Regions from separate parts of the Homo sapiens genome. Here region 1 is linked to region 2. The links are contacts of gene promoters, found by promoter capture Hi-C in blood cells and fetal thymus (Javierre and others, 2016). All regions are on one chromosome and are shown on one strand. Each heading gives the region's core, a stretch centred on a gene start or on the middle of the fragment in contact. The rest is flanking DNA. Distances are from core to core; before and after follow the strand shown.

Region 1 (2,777 bases), core at 106-2,605, 190 kb after region 2:
ATGGTTAGGATATACGATTTTCAGGTGGCATTTCTTTAATTACCCTGTGGATTGCTTGTTGCAATTTGACCCAATGTACATGACTTTTTTTTCTATTGGAAAATTAACTCTAGTGTTCATATATAATGTTTTACTGTGTACTTTTAATATGTGTTTTAAAACAAGATAGTGTATATTTCTTCTTCCCCCCAATTTAACAGATTTGTATTTTATAAACGTTTATACATATTTCCTTGGGGAAATGACCTGCAGATAAGAAATAGATTTCTGTTTATGAGAAAACAATTATTTAAGCTTATGTGTCGTTTTCAGAAGCATTCTAAAATTGCCTTTTTAATTTGTGAGGAACTTTCTCAAACATGACCTTTCTAGTGCTGAATGAAAAGTCATTACCTGAAAATGACTCCCCAAAAAGCTGGAGATTATTTAACTTGTTGTGAGCCCCAGCATCATAAAAGTGAGATCTTTGTCTTGGAAAATAAACAGACTAAATCTTTTTTAAAAAGCTTTTATTTTAGGTTTAGGGGTACATGTGTAGGTTTGTCATGTAGGTAAACTGCCTGTTGCAAGGGCTTGGTGTACGGATTATTTAGTTACCCAGGTAATAAGCATAGTACTTGATACCTAGTTTTTTTCTGCTCCTTTTCCTCCTCACACCCTCAACCCTCAAGTGGGCCCTGGTGTCTCTTGTTCCTCTCTATGTGACCATGAGTTCTCATCATTTAGCTTCTACTTATGAGTGAGAACACGCAGTATTTGGTTTTCTGATAAACAAACTAAATCACCGTACAAAACGTATTGAGATGTCCCTATGAGTCCCTCCCGCCTGTAGGGTTCTGTATCATAGGATCCATGCACTCAACTTCATACATAAAGCAAGGACTTAAGGAGAGCTTCTCCAATACCACCTTTTGCACCATCGCTTTCTATTCAGAGATGACAGAGGCAGTATTTTAACAAGATTAAAGGAAAGTTTTAATAGCTTCATTTAAAAAGTTCTTGTTTTTCCACAGTATCACAACTGTTTTCATTTTTCATCCACCTGTTTGTTCTTTGTCCGTTTGACTAGTCGTTTTTATCATTGTAATCACGACATCCTGTGACTGTGCTCATGAGGTCTGTTTATTTCCACTTTACGTAAACTTTTCAAAATGACAGTTATTTCGTACTCGCTGTCGCCCGAACGCAGACGGGAGGACACTTCAGGAGCAATCGACCCGAAGGAAAAGCACGATCCAGGCCCCGCCTGCCTCGGCTCCACCTTCCCCGCGCCCGTCCCCCAGGGTCTCGGCCGCGGGACCCCGCCTTCCAGGCCCCGCCCCGCTTTTTCCCTGGCCCCGCCCCGGCCCGTCGCCATGTTGTTCCCTCCGCGCTGGACGGGAGCAGCTGGAGCGGGAGCCTGGCTGCGCTACCGCGGCTGCCTCCTGCTGTGCAGGTCCCCGACCCTCTCTCTGTCCTCATTGCGCCCAGACGGGCCGGCCCAGAGCTCCCGGGTCGTCTTTCGTGTGGCCGCGAGGTGAGCGGGACTCGGGACTCCTTCGGGACCGGGCGGAGTGCGCGGGTGTCGGGGTCTGAGGGGGCGGCTCGGGCCTCGGGCAGCTGGGGCGGGGTGCGGTGCGCGCGGGGCTAGCGCGGGTCACAAGGCCGCCCCGGGAGAGAGGACGGCTGGTTGTCTCCCTGCCTCCTCTCTGACGCAGGAGGAAAGACGGTCCCCACACCCTTGGGGAGAGGGACTCACAGAAACACACACAAACACTGGAGAAAGGGAGATACAAAAGCCCGGACACCCGTGCACATACACACGGAGAAATACACCCGGTCACCTGGGAACACACGTACACGCCAGCCTTTCCCCCAACCACTCCGGGACACACATCCACAGACCCCAAACCAAATCCTACACCCGAATGATTAATGTAGGGAAAACAAAGGCGCTCCCATGACTTGATTTTGGCGACCTCTGAAGTTCCACCTAGCAGAACGTGTTTGCTCGATGTCTTACGACCACTCGGGTGAGGAATTCGGAAAGTAAAGCCAATCTTAGAGGCTGCAGGCGTTTTGGGGGCATTATCTGATTCAGACGCTGGCTAACGTTTCACAATCGCGTTCCCTTTTTTCTTCCAACTTGGTAAGTAAAAAGGCAAAATGAGAAATTTAAGTGCTGAACTTAATAAATAGTTGGTGGACGTATTGCTTTTTTTTTTTTTTGGTAAGGGATGACACATCTCGTGACTACAGTTCTTTTGAGGAATAACTTTTCTGCTAGTTTCCAAATCGGCACGTGACCACAATCTTTTCATAGGATTTTAGCGTCCTGATAAAAATCAATGGGCAGAATTTGATTGCTTCTTTAAAAATGTGTTTGTCCTTCGGTCTCTGGCACCATTGTAATGGAAAATCCCTACATTGCCTGTACTCTCAGAAGCTGTCCAGTGTAGCAAAACTAGAGATAAAGAAACCTGGAACGATTCAGTTAGGAACTTTTAAGAAGCCAGCCTTTAGTTTTTCCTTTAGAAGATTATGAAGTTATCATGATTGCTTCTCTAGAACTTTAGTAGTTATTTGGATTCCTAAATCTAAGACAATGCTGTGGCAGTCTGGTGCTTTTAGTATTTTTGTGTCTGCTGTGGTAAATTCCTCGTTTATACTACAAAGTTTCTCTTCTGGAGACTTTTGGGATCTGGGCATATTTTTTCGTTTATTATTTGGAATGTTAGAGTAGATAGGCAAACACTAAGTAGAACATCATTGGCTTTGACTCCAAGCCGGGTTTTAGA
Region 2 (2,855 bases), core at 77-2,576:
TTTATTTTAAAAAGTTTTAAACATAACATATATTCCTTATAGAAAATCTGGAAACTACAAAAGAATAAAAAAAAGAGAAAAAAAAGACTTACATCCCTATACTACCTCTGTTAATATTCTTCTAGTCTTTTTTGTTTTTGCCAAGATTTATTTTTACACAAAGAGAAAATATATTTCTATGTGTCACTTTGTATCCTTAACATCATGACAGAATCATTTCCCTTGCTATTACAAATTCAACATGAATAAGTTTTGTGACATTTCTTGGTTTTGTCTGTTTGTAAAGTCAACCCATTCTCCATGTAGAAAATTTGGAAAGCATGAAAAAGTGTAAAAAATGTACATAATCTATGATTCCATATCTAAATGATAATCACTCAAGATGTTGGTGGGATTTTTTCTTGTCTTTTTTTTTCGCTTTGATGGTACCTTTATTCTAATGATAATTAACTGGTGTTCACCTTATAATTTGCTTGACATATAGTAATTATCCAGGCAATATCATCCTTCCAGAATTTTGCCATGGCCAGGGCCTTGTATATTTGAATCCATAAGAAAATGTTAACTTTTTTCTTCAGATGGACCCTGGGTTTATACTTCACTTTGGATTCTTCCAAGTAATAAACTCCCAACCCAAGTAGTAGACAGGGAAACCTTCTTTTCCCTACTCATCACTATTCTTGTAGAGCGTACTTCCCCCTCTTTCTTGATGGAAATGCTCTGCAATATATCAGATTTGGTGGTGTGGATAGGACAACTAAAAATGCCTATGAATCCGTAGCTGGAATCTCATTAAGGATTTTGGTGATCATTGGTTTGTATAATTCAAACCTTATTTTATACATGTACATACACCCACAAACAAGAATTTGTCCCCAAACAAAATTGAGGTTTGCCTCTAAAACTCTTAGGAATGGAGATATTTGTCCAAAGGTAACACAGGATGTTGGTAAAAATAATGGCTTAAAGTCAGAAGGCCAGAGTTTGAATTGACCTTGACTACCCAGTCATGGGAATTTAGCAAATTGTTTCTCTTCCCTGAGCCTCAGTTTCCTTGTCTATAAAAAGGAGACATTAGCTACCTCATCAAGGATTAAGTGAAGTAACAAGTACAGACAACATAATAAATGGTGAAAGATTTATATGATGTGAAGAGAGAAATAGAACTGCCGTTCCACCCAGCAATTCCACTACTGGGTATCTGCCCAAAGTAAATCATTATATTAAGAAGACACTTGCACTTGTATATTTATTGCAGCACTATTCATAATAGCAAAGTTATGGAATCAACCTAAGTATCCATCAGCACATGATTGGATAAAGAAAATATGGTACATAGACACCATGGCATACTATGTAGCCATAAAAAAACAATGAAATGATGTCTTTTGCAGCAACATGCATGGAGCTGGAAGCCATTATCCTAACTGAAATAACTTAGAAACAGAAAATCAAATATCACATGCTCTCGCTTATAAGTGGGAGCTAAACAATGGGTGCACACGGACTTAAAAATGGAAATATGAATGATAGACACTGGGAGCTCCATAAGGGGGAAGTGGAAGAGGATGAGAGTTGATAAATTACCTATTGGATACTATGTTCACTATTTGGGTGATGGCTACATTAGAAGCCCAAAACCCACCATTACATAATATATCCATGTAACAAACTTGCACGTTCCCTGAATCTATATTTAAAAAAAAAATACAAACTATAGTGGGTGACATAGAAGAACCCCTTTATTAGATACCGGCAGTGAGCCAAGTAAGTTGCTATGTCACAGGCTGGCAAACTATGGCCCAAGGGCCAAATCTGGCATACTGCCTGTTTTTGTAAATAAAGTTTTATTGGAACACAGCCAAACCCATTCACTACTGTATTGCTTATGGCTGCTTTCATACTGTGTTGGCAGAGGGGAGTAGTTGCCACAGAGACTGTGGGGCCCTGAAAAGCCTGAAATATTTACTACCTGGTTCTTTACAGAAATTTATTTCCCACCCCTGTGTTAAATGTTTCCCCAAAACCACAGAGGTAAATTATATTGTCTTCCCATTTCACAGGTCAGGAAACTGACACATGCAGAGATTAAGGACTTGCTCACACTGCTGTTATTGAATTGGATCTTGATCCCAGGTCTATCTCAATTCAAAGTTTAGCAACCACTCTACAATGCTTCTTCAAAAGATATATGAATTAAATCTGAACTCTCATAGCCTTAACTTCCACTTCTGCCATAACATCTCACTTTCAACCATTGATAATGATTGAGCCTTGAATATAGACATTAGTGTCTCTTACATTCATTCCAGCATGCTGTTACATAGCTCCTCCAAAAGAAACCACATCTCAACTTCAAACCAGTATATCAAACTGCAAGTCAGGGAAATGGATGAAACTATGGCATTGTCAGAGTCAAGAACTGTGAAGGATCTGAGATTTGATCCTACTAGCAGTCTCATGAGTTAGTCTGCCACAGTTTCATGGATTCTGGCAAAAGATATGAGACTCTTGGGTCAGAGACAAAAGAGACTTCATTATTCTCAGAACTACAAGCAGCATGAGTTTTCATATTCACATCAGATCCTTCTCACTTCCCGAGTCCCATGGGAGTTACACAGAGTGGCCCAGGTAGATGCCGTGTATGCAGTGGGTTTACATCACAACTGAGGAATCCTGAGTTTAGGAAACCCAAATCTTTGACAATGGACGGTAGGTAAACCTGCCTGACTTTTGCTTGAGAGACAGATATTATCTTGGTTATACTTGACAGCAAACAAACTTGCCCTCAGTTCTGGAAGTAGATGTTCTTTCTACCTTTCAAAGGATGCTATACAAACATCCTTGACAAAAAT

What was found. The method cuts DNA at HindIII sites, captures the fragments that hold promoters and counts their contacts. A CHiCAGO score of 5 or more calls a contact.
Region 1: the fragment with the promoter of RAB9A here is called in contact with a fragment that was not itself captured in region 2 in 1 of 17 cell types (non-activated CD4 T cells); the score reaches 6.7 in non-activated CD4 T cells.

The regions. Positions count from the first base shown.
Region 1 is chrX:13,687,773-13,690,549 of GRCh38, forward strand. It overlaps RAB9A (RAB9A, member RAS oncogene family), which reads left to right and starts at 1,356. Exons shown (of 3, transcript NM_004251.5): 1 at 1,356-1,516. RefSeq lists an enhancer at 1,056-1,105 and silencers at 1,256-1,495, 1,506-1,665. The HindIII fragment of the contact is 3,610 bases long and covers 505-2,777 here.
Region 2 is chrX:13,496,564-13,499,418 of GRCh38, forward strand. No RefSeq gene overlaps it. Among named protein-coding and RNA genes, the nearest start is that of EGFL6, 72 kb to the right of the region's middle. The HindIII fragment of the contact is 4,972 bases long and covers 1-2,855 here.